2 separate regions of the Homo sapiens genome follow, and region 1 is linked to region 2. The links are contacts of gene promoters, found by promoter capture Hi-C in human tissues and cell types (Jung and others, 2019). All regions are on one chromosome and are shown on one strand. Each heading gives the region's core, a stretch centred on a gene start or on the middle of the fragment in contact. The rest is flanking DNA. Distances are from core to core; before and after follow the strand shown.

The links. The method cuts DNA at HindIII sites, captures the fragments that hold promoters and counts their contacts. A contact is called where the count stands out against the background at its distance.
Region 1: a fragment that was not itself captured here is called in contact with the fragment with the promoter of ZBTB32 in region 2 in 4 of the 25 tissues and cell types used here (aorta, liver, pancreas and 1 more).

Annotation. Positions count from the first base shown.
Region 1 is chr19:35,488,406-35,495,351 of GRCh38, reverse strand. It overlaps KRTDAP (keratinocyte differentiation associated protein), which reads left to right and starts at 4,888. Exons shown (of 6, transcript NM_207392.3): 1 at 4,888-4,996; 2 at 6,512-6,550; 3 at 6,649-6,690; 4 at 6,867-6,911. The coding sequence starts at 4,910. LOC124904703 (a long non-coding RNA gene) reads left to right here. Exons shown (of 2, transcript XR_007067242.1): 2 at 162-760. RefSeq lists an enhancer at 1-506. The HindIII fragment of the contact is 6,388 bases long and covers 1,979-6,946 here.
Region 2 is chr19:35,701,635-35,708,082 of GRCh38, reverse strand. ZBTB32 (zinc finger and BTB domain containing 32) reads right to left here and starts at 3,525. Exons shown (of 7, transcript NM_014383.3): 1 at 3,460-3,525. RefSeq lists an enhancer at 5,746-5,985. The HindIII fragment of the contact is 13,873 bases long and covers 1-6,448 here.

The sequences.
Region 1 (6,946 bases), core at 3,923-6,422, 210 kb after region 2:
CCAAAGAGCTGAAAGCGGCTCTTGAAAGCTTAGAGTGACACCCGAGGCAGGCTAAGGTCCCCTGGCATGAGGGGCCCTCCAGTGAAGGGTGGGTACCCCTTTCTCCCTTCAGGGCTCCTCCAGTGACCTCCTGAATCCCCAACTTCCATCTTATTCTTTAGATCCCGTTCTTCCACAACGCCCTAGAAGGAGCCCCTGCTCGGAACCTACCACCAGCTTCTCATTAGCCCTGGAATAAAATCCCCATTCCTCACTACGGCTCTATGCGATGGGCCTGGCCTCCCTCTCTAACGTCCCTCTGGGCCTACTGGCACAGGCCATCAGGGAACATGGGCGGCTGTTACCAAGGTCTTCAGAAAGCCAGAGCTTCATCTGCTTTTAGGACTAATTTCAAATGTCCCTCCCTGGGCCACCTTTTAAAATTTGTATTTTAATAGAGACGGGGTCTTGCCATGTTGCCCAGGCTGGTCTGGAACTCCTGGGCTTGAGTGATCCTCCTGCCTCAGCCCCCTAAAGTGCTGGGACTACAGGTGCGAGCCACCGCACTCGGCCCTCAGGCCATCGACCAAGGAAACCCTGTCAGCATCATATGGCCCCGTTTTCTTCGCAGCACCTGTCCTTCTCTGAAGTCATCTTGTTTGCGTATCTATTTTTGGTTACATTATGATGTCTCCTTCGCTAGGACATGGGATCTGTAGGGCAGGTCTTTTGTCCATCTACAGCCCCCAGTACCAAGAGCCAAATAAATATTTACAAATTAGCCAATGGAGAGAGGGATTGGAATTAAGTGGGACCAATCCAGGAAGACTTCCTGGGAGAGGTTTAAGCACCGGGCACATAGGGTGGGCGGCAAAGGAAGAAACCACACCTGCTGGTGGATGAGGCTGCTTTCTTGGTTGTGACAACACCGACGGAGGGAGGAAGGGATGGGACAGGGATGCCCTGAGTTCTGCCCCCTAATACTCCACATCCCAGTCCCCTCTCTCTCCCAGGATTCCCGGCTTCCCACCTAGTGTTCGCCAAGGCCCCGAAAACCTAGTGTCTCTCTCTTGGAATCCCCACTCCCTCCCTAGACCCAGGAGGCTGGCTGCCAGGCCCTAGGTGTGTCTCACAATGGGGCAATCCAGGCTGGGCCTCGCCTCCTACCCACACTCAAGTTCTGGCAGATTTGGGGTGGGGTGGGGGCAGGCCTGTGGGAAAACAGAGGTTTACTGGTATTCTCAGTGAGGGAGCTAGGAAGTCAAGCCGACCTGGAGATGTGATGTTGCAGAGCCAGTCTCTGCGGCTGCCTGACTCCATTAACCCTCCGTGATTCATCCAAAGCTGAGCTGCGTATCGGGCAGATTTTCCTGCAGCCCATCACCTGAACTGCTGGGACCCTCTCCCAGGGAGAACTCCCTGCCCCTCTCTTTCCCCATCTGCCCAACCCAACTCAGGGAACACAAACTACTCAGGCAGCGTAGATGGAGGAAGAGGGAGGAGTTTGGAGAGAGACACTGGCTTCTAAAGTTGGCCGCTTACAGCAAAAATCACGTCAAGATGGAACTAGCTGGGCGCCGTGGCTCACTCCTGTGATCCCAGCACTTTGGGAGGCCGAGGCAGATCACTTGAGGTCAGGAATTTGAGACGATCCTGGCCAACATGGTGAAACCCCGTCTCTGCTAAAAATACAAAAATTAGCTGGGTGTGGCGGCGCACGCCTGTCATCCCAGCTACTCGGGAGACTGAGACAGGAGAATCACTCCTCCTGGGAGGTGGAGGTTGCAGTGAGCCGAGATCATACCACTGCACTCTAGCCTGGGCAACAGAGCAAGACTCTGTCTCAAAAACAAAAAACAACAAACAAACAAAACCCCAAAAAACTACCCTCAGAAGGTGCCAGGAAGATGCCAAGTGGAAACAAATCATGAGTCCAACACAGACAGCTTTTTTTCCAGCATAGGAAGAGAATTTCTTTGGTTGAGCACACAAAGCAGTTGGCCTGTGTTTAGAGGTATGATACAAAAAGTACCTATTTTTAAACAGCAGAATGTTGAACACTAGATCCAGAAACGGAACCCTATCTGTAAACACATACTTGGTGTGGCAAGATGATTATACTACTGGAGGCATCTGGAAACGGAGGCAATCACAGGTTCATTCGGGGGCTGATGCCACTAACCTTCATTCTTCGTTTTCATTTTGTCAAGAGTGTGCAGTTTGATTCATTTAAATGAATGCACCTATGCTTGGGGCTGCCACCTCTGATGGTGCAGGCTATGCACCACAATGGACACTGTAAAGGGGACCTGTGGGGGTTCGATGCAGTCTGCCCCCCACTCTCAGGACATGGGTCTAATTCACACAGGGTGTTACATGTGCTGTAACATAGCCTGTCCAGCATAGAGAGGAGCAATATAGGTTCAGGCTCTGGAAGCCCAGCGTTCTAATGCTGGTCCTGTCACATTCTGGCTGTGTGACCTGGGGTGAGTTATTTAACCTCTATATGCTGTGGTTCCCCCGCCTATAGAATGTGAATAATTATAGTACCCACCTGTGTCAGAATCACTGGGACATTTCAATGAGATCGCGTATTTGGAGCACTTAGTACAAGGTCTGCCATATAGTAAGCCTCAGTAACTCAGCTAACATTGTTATCAATACCATCGGGTGGAGAGGAAAACATAGGGAGGGCAATTTATTGTCAAAGGAAAATCACAGATTAGACTCTAGAGCAAAACAGAAGACAGCGTTGGATTGACCGATGCTCTAGATCACCCAGGCCAAAACTGGCACTGGGTCCCCTCACCCGCCTGTCAAATCGTAGCTGGTTATACAACATCAGTTCTCTTTTGTCTGATTCTTCACTCCCTGGAGTCGACCCTATGCGGATGGAATGGTGGCTAATGAGCTTTTTCAGTCACTGTTCGTTAATTAGCAAGGATTCATTACACAGAACTTGTGTCCTCCAGAAAACCTTTTGGGAGGTGCTCCACCCACCTCAGTCATTCTCTAACTCGTCCCCTCCAGGAGCACCAACTCTGTGACATCCACTACTGTGTGGCCATCTGGGCTAAGGGAGTGTTCTCTAAGCAGTGTTCCCTCAGGTAGCTCTGCAAAGGGGAAGCTGCCATTATAAAATCAGAGGAGGCTGAAGAGGATGTCTGGGACTGGGGTGTGGGGGCAGCGTGAGGATGGAGCTGAGGTGCCCAGCTTCTGGGGTTCGTAAAGGTTGTTCATGGATGCCGTCCAGCCCTCCCACCCAGGGCCACCGCCACCGTGCATTGCATCAGGTTGTGTTGATAAGGTCTTGCTTTTCCCTGACAGCGCCGGTCCATGTCCCAGCCCCTCCCTGTTACAGCAGGAGCCGGTTTGGCCACCTGAACCTCACTGTGGAGAAGGCTGCTTGACTAGGACATTGTGTCACAGTGAGGTGATCCAACTTCCAAACTGGGGGTGGGGCAAGGTGGGTTAGGGCAATGACATGGAGTGGGCACTCCAGGTTCAGGGTACCTGGATCCCATCTCCAACTGGGCACCCTAAGAGCTGTTTTTTGTTCCCTGTTCCTTGTCATCTTAGCTCAAGACAGTCATTTCTCTGAAGACCCAAGAGTAAAAGACGGGCAGTTGGAAAATGGAAAGGTTCAGCCCCATGAAAGGAAAATGTACACTGTGGCTGAAGGATGCCTGAATACTAAGTCTAACGTATCATATCTGACCAATGCTGACTCTACCTGGGTTCTGTGTGAGCCATGGTTCTAGGGGGATGTAAAGCTGATCAAGATACAGCTCCTGACCTCAAGGAACTTGATACTCTAAAAGGGAAACAAGGCGAGAACATGACTTACTTAGATACAATGCCAGAGACATACAAACGAATGAATATGGGAATTCTGTGAAAGGAAAGGTGTGGAGAGAAGGACTGGGCATTGCAGGAAAAATCTGGGAAGCTTCATCCAAGATGAGTGTTGGGTTCTGAGAACTGGAGATGAGAGAAGGCCATGTTAGGAATAAGGAACAGCATGGCCGGATGCTTTGAAGAGGGAAAAAGAAGGATATAGTTGGTAAGGGGTCTAATTTGGCCAGAATGTGAGGTATGTACAAAGCTAGTAAAGGAAGAAGTTATAAAGGTGGGTTGAGTTCAGAGCATGGACCACCTTCAATGCCAAGCTAAAGAGTTTACATAGATTTTGGTAGGGTGGAAGAAAAGGCCTGAATGAGCATGGAGCGCAGGCTCACACCTATAGTCCTTTGGGAGGTCAAGGCAGGCGGACCCCTTGAGTCCAGGAGTTTGAGGCCAGCTTGGGCAACATGGCGAGACATTTTCATCTCTACGAGAAAATTAAAAAAAAAAAAAGCTGCAACATCTCTACAAGAAAATAAAAAAGTTAGCTAGGTGAGGTGATGCGTGCCTCTAGTCCCAGCTACTAGGGAGACTGAGGTGGGAGGATTGCTTGAGCCTGGGAGGTCAAGGCTGCAGTGAGCTGTGATCACACCACTGCACTCCAGTCTGGGCAACGAGTGAGAGCCTGTCAAAAAAAAAGAAAAGAAAAGAAAAGAAAAAGCCTGAATTCTAAGAGAGGAATGAGGGATATAACGAAAAGAGACAAAGACAAAAGGAGAGGTTGCTTGGGTACCACTGCCAATCCCTTGGAGGGACAGGTCCAACCTGTCTCTGTCCCAGCCCCATCTGCATGAAGAGACCCATTGCAGTGTTACCTTCCACGTGCCTGGGGCAGAATGCGAATTGAGAAATCCGAGGCAAATGAGGAACAGTCCATGCCTCCCCCTCCCAGAGCCCCGGGGGTGGGCGACAAGATCTGGGGGTGAGTCAGTGGGGTGGGGACCCCATTTCTGTGCTCATCTGCCTCCTTGGCAATATAAAGAGCAAGCACTGAGGCCCCGCCTCAGAGCACCCCAAACTTGACGCCATGAAGATCCCGGTCCTTCCTGCCGTGGTGCTCCTCTCCCTCCTGGTGCTCCACTCTGCCCAGGGAGCCACCCTGGGTGGTCCTGAGGTGAGCACGTCACCTGCATTTTTATTCTTATACGTGTTACCCACCTACCCCTCCATCTCTCTACCTCCTGTCCATTCCTGGATAAGTGGCTCTTAGTTTTGGATTCTGATGGGGGCTGAAGAAACTGGGGCTCTGAGGAAGGGAGGAGGGAACAGAGCATCCCTGGGGAGACATTTGGGACAGAGATGCTCCTCTTTCTGGAAGGGATGGTGAAGTGTGTTGGGGAGGCTCGTGTACTGAACCTTGGGACTGAGTGGGTGGTCTGGGTTCAGACTATCTCCACCATGGGCTCTCAAGAGTGTTCACCCATTCCGTTCCAGCTGCACACATGCCTGGGGACGTGCAGGGGAAGAGGGGGAACTGGAGAACGGCAATGTGAGGCAGAGCAGCTCCAAACCCAGGCCTGCATCCACATGGGCAGCAGGTGGAGAGGGTGAAGCAAAGCAAAAAACTAGCTAGTTCTGCCTGCAGCTGACTTAACTCAAAGAGGAGTGGGGCTGGGGTGTTCTGGAGACACCCCTGCTTAGCTCCTCTTTGCTTCATTTGTGCCCCTGGGAGTGGTGCCCAGGTGACGGGTGGCTCCCTGCTGTCTCTGGAGCATAGGCCACAGTGAGAATCTTTACCATCCAGTCCTCAGCCAGAGAGGAATCCTGATGCCTATTCCGGATTTAAAAGTCTAAGACAGGGGCACAGGCTCAGCTGCTAAGGACCAAGCCAGTGGTGTCACTGAGCTGGGGGGGCTGTCAGGGCCTGAGGTGAAATGGGGCCAACTTTCCCAGTCTGAAAGGGCAGCTTTCACCCCACCTGACGCCATGGATTGGGAAGATGTGCCTAGAGTTTTACATTTTTCAGGGGAAACTAGAAATCTGGATGAATTTATGAATTCTTACTAATTCAAAATGTCTAATTCAAACCAAAAAACAAATGACCAAATTTTTATGAGATCTAAGCATCTGGATCCAGCCTGCGGGCTCCGTGTTGGGCTCTGTCATGGGGAAGACACGATGGGACACACTGAGGCCTGGGGTGGGGTCCCCATGGAGGGGGATTATGGAACCTCCAACAGTGGTGGCAATAAATCCACAAAGCAAAGCAACCTCGATCAGTGAGAGGCAGGCGGGTCACCTCAGCAGCTGGGCTCCCACCTGCTCGCAAATCTTTCCCATCCAGCTATACGGACTGAGCGTGGGTGTCTCCAGAACACCCCACCTCTTAGACTTAAGTCAACTGCAGGACAGCACTAGCTAGCTTTTCCGGAGAGGAATGCTCGGCTCCAGGCTTTCTGCCTGCTGCCCATGGTGACACTGCTTACATGTACCATTCTCCAATTCCCCCTCCTCACCCTGCACATCCGCCAACCATGTGCGCGACTGGAACGGAGACCATGGTGGGGAATGGGTTGCGTTCTTTCGGGGACTGGGCTGTGGATGAAGGCAGAGCTGGCAGACAGGGATGTGGGCAAGGGCCCTGGCATCACGTGACCCCCTGCCGCCTTTTCTCCCTCTCCTTTTCCAGGAAGAAAGCACCATTGAGAATTATGCGTCACGACCCGAGGTAAGCCGTCTGTTTTCCCCGGCCCTCCAGCCACGAGTCTGTCCTCTCTCTCTTTTTGCTTCTTAGCAACTTTCCTAACACCCTGCGTTTCTGCCTAGGCCTTTAACACCCCGTTCCTGAACATCGACAAATTGCGATCTGTGAGTACGCTTCTCTGGTGCTACCCCCACGAATACCCTCATCACAGAGGGGATAAACGCCTTGGTAGAGAGCTTGCAAAGCTGCCACGGTTCCTTCACCTTCTCCAGAGGGCTGGGGGCTAAGCTCTGGCCTCCCCTGGAGCTGACCTGCTTCTGCTGTCTCTCTTCCTCCTCAGGCGTTTAAGGCTGATGAGTTCCTGAACTGGCACGCCCTCTTTGAGGTGAGTGCTCCGGCGCCCCTTGCCCTCCTCGGTTG
Region 2 (6,448 bases), core at 2,276-4,775:
AAATAATATAGGAACCTACTTTATTCCAATGGTTCTAAATCTCTTAGGGAGTCACCATCAGGTTCAGAATGTCACCCATGGGACTAACTCTTCTTTTTATTGAGACAGAGTCTCCTTCTGTCACCCAGACTGGAGTGCAGTGGCACGATCTTGGCTCAGTGCAACCTCTGCCTCCCAGGTTCAAGAGATTCTCCTGCCTCAGCCTCCTGAGTAGCTGGGACTACAGGCACGCACCACGACACCCGGCTAATTTTTGTATTTTTAGTAGAGATGAGGTTTTACCATGTTGGCCAGGCTGGTCTCAAACTTCTGACCTCAAGTGATCCACCCGCCTCAGCCTCCCAGAGTGCAGGGATTACAAGTGTGAGCCACCCAGCCTGGGACCAATTGTTGACATTAGAAAATGGTAGACACAGGCCGGGTGCGGTGGCTCACGCCTGTAATCCCAGCACTTTGGGAGGCCGAGGTGGGCGGATCACAAGGTGAAGAGATAGAGACCGTCCTGGCCAACATGGTGAAATGCCGTCTCTACTAAAAATACAAAAATTAGCTGGGCGTGGTGGCACGTGCCTGTAATCCCAGCTACTTGGGAGGCTGAGGCAGGAGAATTGCTTAAACCCGGGAGGCGGAGGTTGCAGTGAGCCAAGATCACACCACTGCACTCCAGCCTGGTAACAGAGCTAAGACTCCATCTCGAAAAAAAAAAAAAAAAAGAAAATGGTAGACACTTATACCACTTGGCATATGAATGCATGACAAGAGATTGACAGATTACTCTGAGCCTCATGGCTGGAGAGGTTAACTATCGTCTAGCTTATTCTTTACCCTCCCCTCCTCATAATATACATGCATACCATTAATTGTTCTTTTTTTTTTTTTTTTTTTTTAGAGACACAGTCTTGCTCTGTCACCCAGCCTGGAGTGCAGTGGCACAATCATGGCTCACTGCAGTCTTGACATCCTGGGCTCAAGTCATCCCCCTATCTCAGCCTCCTGAGTAGCTGGGATTACAGGCATGTGCCATCATGCTTGGTGGCTGTCTGCCGAGCTGGGATTAACTGCACACTTCATGTGCCAGCACCCCGGGCCCCCACCACACCATAGAGGGAATGGCCAATTGAGCTGCCCCAATATTAACTGGTTTCGGGGTTAGACTTCCTTGAAGTCCACTCATAAGCCACTCCTTGCACCCTCACCCCTGGTTAAAGAACTCTGGGTGTACTGAAGGCACTCCGAAAGCATAAATACCACTGAACAGCTGAATGAAACTAGGTATCAACACCCTGCCCCATGAGTATAAAAAAGATCATCAGTAAAGACAACCTGGGTGATTTCCTTTATGTTATTTACTTATTTATTTTTGAGACAGAGTTTTGCCCTTGTTGCCCAGGCTGGAGTGCAGTGGCGCGATCTCGGCTCACTGCAACCTCTGCCTCCTGGGTTCAAGTGATTCTCCTACCTCAGGCTCCTAAGTAGCTGGGATTACAGGCATCTACCATGCCCGGCTAATTTTTTGCATTTTTAGTAGAGATGGGGTTTCACCACGTTGGCCAGGCTGGTCTTGAACTCCTGACCTCAGGTGATCCACCTGCCTCGGCCTCCCAAAGTGCTAGGATTACAGGTGTGAGCCACCACGCCCTGCCAAAAACCTGGGTGATTTCCTAAAGAGGAGAATATCTCACACACCTCTTCCTGTGCTCCACTACGATGTTCATCCTCCCCATGCACCTGCCCCGCACCTACAGCCTGATATCTTCATCTTCTAGGAATTATCAGAACAGGCATGGGAAAGAGTGGGACAGGGAGAATGAAAAGCTCCAGACATGACCCAATTCCAGTTTTTTTTTTTTTTTTGAGATGGAGTTTCGCTCTTGTTGCCCAGGCTGGAGTGCAATGGCACGATCTCGGCTCACCGCAACCTCCGCCTCCCAGGTACAAGCGATTCTCCTGCCTCAGCCTCCCTAGTAGCTGGGATTACAGGCATGTGCCACCACGCCCAGCTAATTTTGTATTTTTAGTAGAGATGGGGTTTCTCCATGTTGGTCATGCTGGTCTCAAACTTCTGACCTCAGGTAATCCGCCCGCCTTGGCCTCTCAAAGTGCTGGGATTATAGATGTGAGCCCCCACGCCTGGCCCTGCTTTTTTTTTTTTTTAATTAATTTTTTTTTTTTGAGACAGAGCATTGCTCTGTTGCCCAGGCTGGAGTGCAGTGGTGCGATCTCTGCTCACTGCAACCTCCGCCTCGTGGGTTCAAGGGATTCTCCTGCCTCAGACTCCTGAGTAGCTGGGATTACAGGCACCTGCCACCACACCTGGCTAATTTTTGTATTTTTAGTAGAGACAGGGTTTCACCATGTTGGTCAGGCTGGTCTCGAGCTCCTGACCTGGTGATCCACCCACCTCAGCCTCCCAAAGTGCTGGGATTACAGGTGTGAGCCACCACGCCTGGCCACCCAATCCCAGTTCTGTACAGAGCCACCACAAGGCAATAATACTTCATCCAGCGCAAACAGCTCGGCTGGGATTCAGAATCCTTCTCCCTAGAATCTCCAGAGGATTACTGGCCTAACCTCTTGGCCACATCATCCAACCTGGACTCCATACTGGGAAATCTGCCAAGAACATCTCAACCTGGAGTCCAGAACATTCACTCCCAGCCCAGGCTGGCTCCAAAGACCCCAGGAAACCTTCATGTGCACACTAGTTTCATCTCTTGGCCAGTGACTTCCTACATAACTTTTTTTTTCTTTTCATTTTTTTTCTTGAGACAGGGTCTCATTCTGTCGCCCAGGCTGGAGTGCAATGGCGTGATCTCAGCTCACTGCAACGTTCATCTCCTGAGTTCAATGAGTTCAAGCGATTCTCCTGCCTCAGCTTTCTGAGTAGCTGGGATTACGGACGTGTGCCACCACGCCCAGGTAATTTTTTTTAGAAACCCCGTAGAGACAGGGTTTCTCCATGTTGGCCAGGCTGGTCTCAAACTCCTGACCTCAAATGATCCACCTGCCTCAGCCTCCCAAAGTGCTGGGATTACAGGCGTGAGCCACCGCGCCCAGCCCCTGCATAACCTTTGGAGATCCACAGGCCTCTCCTTTCAGTCACCGGATCCAGGCTCAGTCCAGAGACCCTTGATAAGCTCTCATTGTCCGGAGGCCATACCTCATGCAGAGTTAAGGACCTCCAACTTCCCCACAACACCCTTCCTACTCAGGCTGGCCTCGGGGGCCGTGGACCAACTCAGAGAGCAAGCTGGCTTAGCCTCTGCCAAACCTAGGCCTAAAGGTGGCCAGGAGGCTGCATTTCCAGCCTCTCAAAGGCAGAGGAAAGCCCCAAGGGCTAAAGCCCTCAACCCGCACTTCCCAATCATCAACGAGGTCCAGTCAAGCCCCCATACCCCAGATTTGCCTGGGCCGGGCCCAAGCCCAAGAAAGTAAAGTAAGAAAAACTATGGCACTCACCGGCCCAGACCCTGTTCCTCCTTCCCTTTCAGCCTCACATACACCCAGGACGGCTTAAGGCCGAGTGACCGTTAAAAGTGGGGAATGGAGCGAGGCCAGGGACGCAACGCTCCCGCACGTGGTCACCCCTGGATCCTGAGGCGGACGCTGATTGGCTGCAGCGCGGGCCGCATTCTCCCGCTCAGGCCAGCTGAGCACGCTGGGCAGCCTGGGAGGCACCTAGGACAGCGCCACTCCCGCGCGTCTGCCTCGGACCCGCAGCTGATTGGCTGTGAAGGGGCAGAGCCTTGAGTCTCATTGGTCCATAGGCTTCAGGCCTCTTAGGCTGAGATTTCATTGATTTCCAGCCGGGCCCCAGCGTTGATCTGCTGTGGAGTCTGCCTTTTCCCACTCTCTCCACGAAGAGACTGGACCCTGATTCTCCTTCACCTGAACAGCCCTGGAGGCTCCCTCAGCAAGTGCTCAGGAGTACTACTGTCCTTTTTTTTTTTTTTTTTTTTGAGACAGAGTCTCGCTCTGTCGCCCAGGCTGGAGTGCAGTGGCGCGATCTCTGCTCACTGCAAGCTCCGACTCCCGGGCTCACACCATTCTCCTGCCTTAGCCTCCCAAGTAGCTGGGACTACAGGCGCCCGCCATCACGCCCGGCTAATTTTTTGTACATTTAGTAGAGATGGGGTTTCACCATGTTAGCCAGGATGGTCTCGATCTCCTGACCTCGTGATCCACTCGCCTCGGCCTCCCAAAGTGCTGGGATTACAGGCGTGAGCCACCACGCCCGGCTTTTTAAAAAATTATTATTTCATTTTTATTTTATGAACGGGGTCTCCCTCTGTTGCCGGTGCTGGGGTGCAATGGTGCAATCATAGCTCACTGCAGCCTCGAACTCCTGGGCTCAAGCAATCCTTCCACCTGGGCCTCCCAAAATTCTGGAACTACAGCCGTGAGACACCGTGCCTGACCTGCCTTTCTTGCTTCTATTTTGCCACCCTAAGTAGCTCCCATTTGCAAACCCTGTCACCTTTCTCTCAACCCTTTACCATCTGTGAGGTGTGTAGGGGGTGTGTAGGCTGCCGCCACACCTGATTGGCTGGGAGGCCCGTAAGAGCAAGCCAAGGCCAGGCACGGTGGCTCATGCCCGTAATCCCAGGGCTTTGAGAGGTCCAGGTGGTAGTAGGATCGCTTGAGCCCAGGAGGTCGAGGCTGCAGTGAGCTATGATCACACCACTGCACTGCAGCCTGGGCGACACAGTGAGGCCCTGTCTCTAATAAATAAATAAAAATAAAATAAAAGAGCCAGCCAGGCAGGGCACGGTGGCTCACGCCTGAAAACCCAGCACTTTGGGAGGCCGAGGAGGGCGGATCACCTGGGGTCAGGAGTTCGAGATCAGCATGACCAACATGGTGAAACCCCGTCTCTACTAAAAATACAAAAATTAGCTGAGCGTGGTGGCGGGCGCCTGTAATTCCAGCTACTCGGCAGGCTGAGGCAGGGGAATCGCTTGAACCCCGGGAGGCGGAGATTGCAGGGAGCCTATATCGCGCCACTGCACTCCAGCCTGGGAGACAGAGCGAGACGGCGTCTCAAAAAAAAAAAGAGCCAGCCAGGCTTCGGTGCCTGTGAACAGCTCCCTTTTCTCTCTTGTCCCACTCCACCACGATTGCTGGCACAGCTCACTCTGCCTCGCCTGGAAGCCTGGAAGTGTACAGGGACAGGAAAGACACAAGAGGGGGGCAGTGCCTTGCCCCGTGATTGGCAGCGTGACACTTGCACTTCCAATTCCCACTGCCACCTCGACTGTATGCTCAGCCAGGAGTAACTGCGCGCGGACGTGTCAGCACTCCCACCTCCAACCATACCGCAGAGGGAACGGCCGATTGCGCTGCCCCAACATTAACTGGCCCGGGGGTTAGACTCCCTCCAGCAGGGTTTCCCCCTGGGCAGGGCTTCGGGGCTAACAAGCTGCGAGCTCGCCCCTCGCCAGTCTCCCGAGGTGCTTGTCTGCGGGGCTTCTGGCCCGGCCCCCGCGGCGGTTGCACCGCTGATTGGCTGGCTCCGCTCCTTTCTAAGTGGCTTAGCCTGGGATTCGTTCTCAAGCATAGCCAATGAGACGCCAGGGCGCCTCAAGCAGGCGGGCATGACTCCACCGCTGTCGCTTCTGATTGGCCCTAAGGCTCGTCTTCGCTTTAGATTGACCAGAGAGCAGCGGGGCGGGAGCTTAGTTGAGCAGTTTCAGGCTGCGATGCGAGTTCGGTACCTTCCCGCTGCGCGGAGTGTTGTTGTGCGCGTCCTTCGCAGCCGCTCGCTGAGGAGCTGGAGTGGGGAGGAATGGGGGTGGTCAGGAGACAGGAGAGCACCTCGCGGAAGAGCCTGGGACAACAACCGGAGCTGTAGGTCCTGACCGAGACAGCCTGAGGCGTCCCTGGCCCCGATAGGGAGCGAAACCGCTAAAATGGGGGAAGGGGCCGGACGTGGTGGCTCACGCCTGTAATCCCAGCACTTTGGGAGGCTAAGGCGGGCAGATCACCTGAGGTCAGGAGTTCGAGACCAGCCTGACCAATATGGTGAAACCCCGTCTCTACTAAAAATACAAAAATTAGCCGGGCGTGGTGGGGGATGCCTGTAACCCCAGCTACTCGGGAGGCCCAGGCAGGTGAATTGCTTGAACCCGAGAGGCGGAAGTTACAGTGAGCGGAGATGGCGCCACTACGCTCCAGCCTGGGCGACAGAGCAAGACTCCATCTCAAAAAATAAAAATAAAAAATAAAGTAAAAAAGGGAGAAGGACTGGCACTGTGGTGGGAGTAATAGCACCTCGTGTTTACCGAGCCCTTTCCATGTGCCACGCTTGTGCATCAACTCGTTGAAACCTAAATAACCCCGTGAGGGAGGCGATTACTATGCCAGGTTAACCTCTGAGGGTCAAAGAGGTGAAGTCGTTTATTTAGGGTCCCGCAGCAGTTACGGGCATTGCTGGAACTCGAACCCTGCT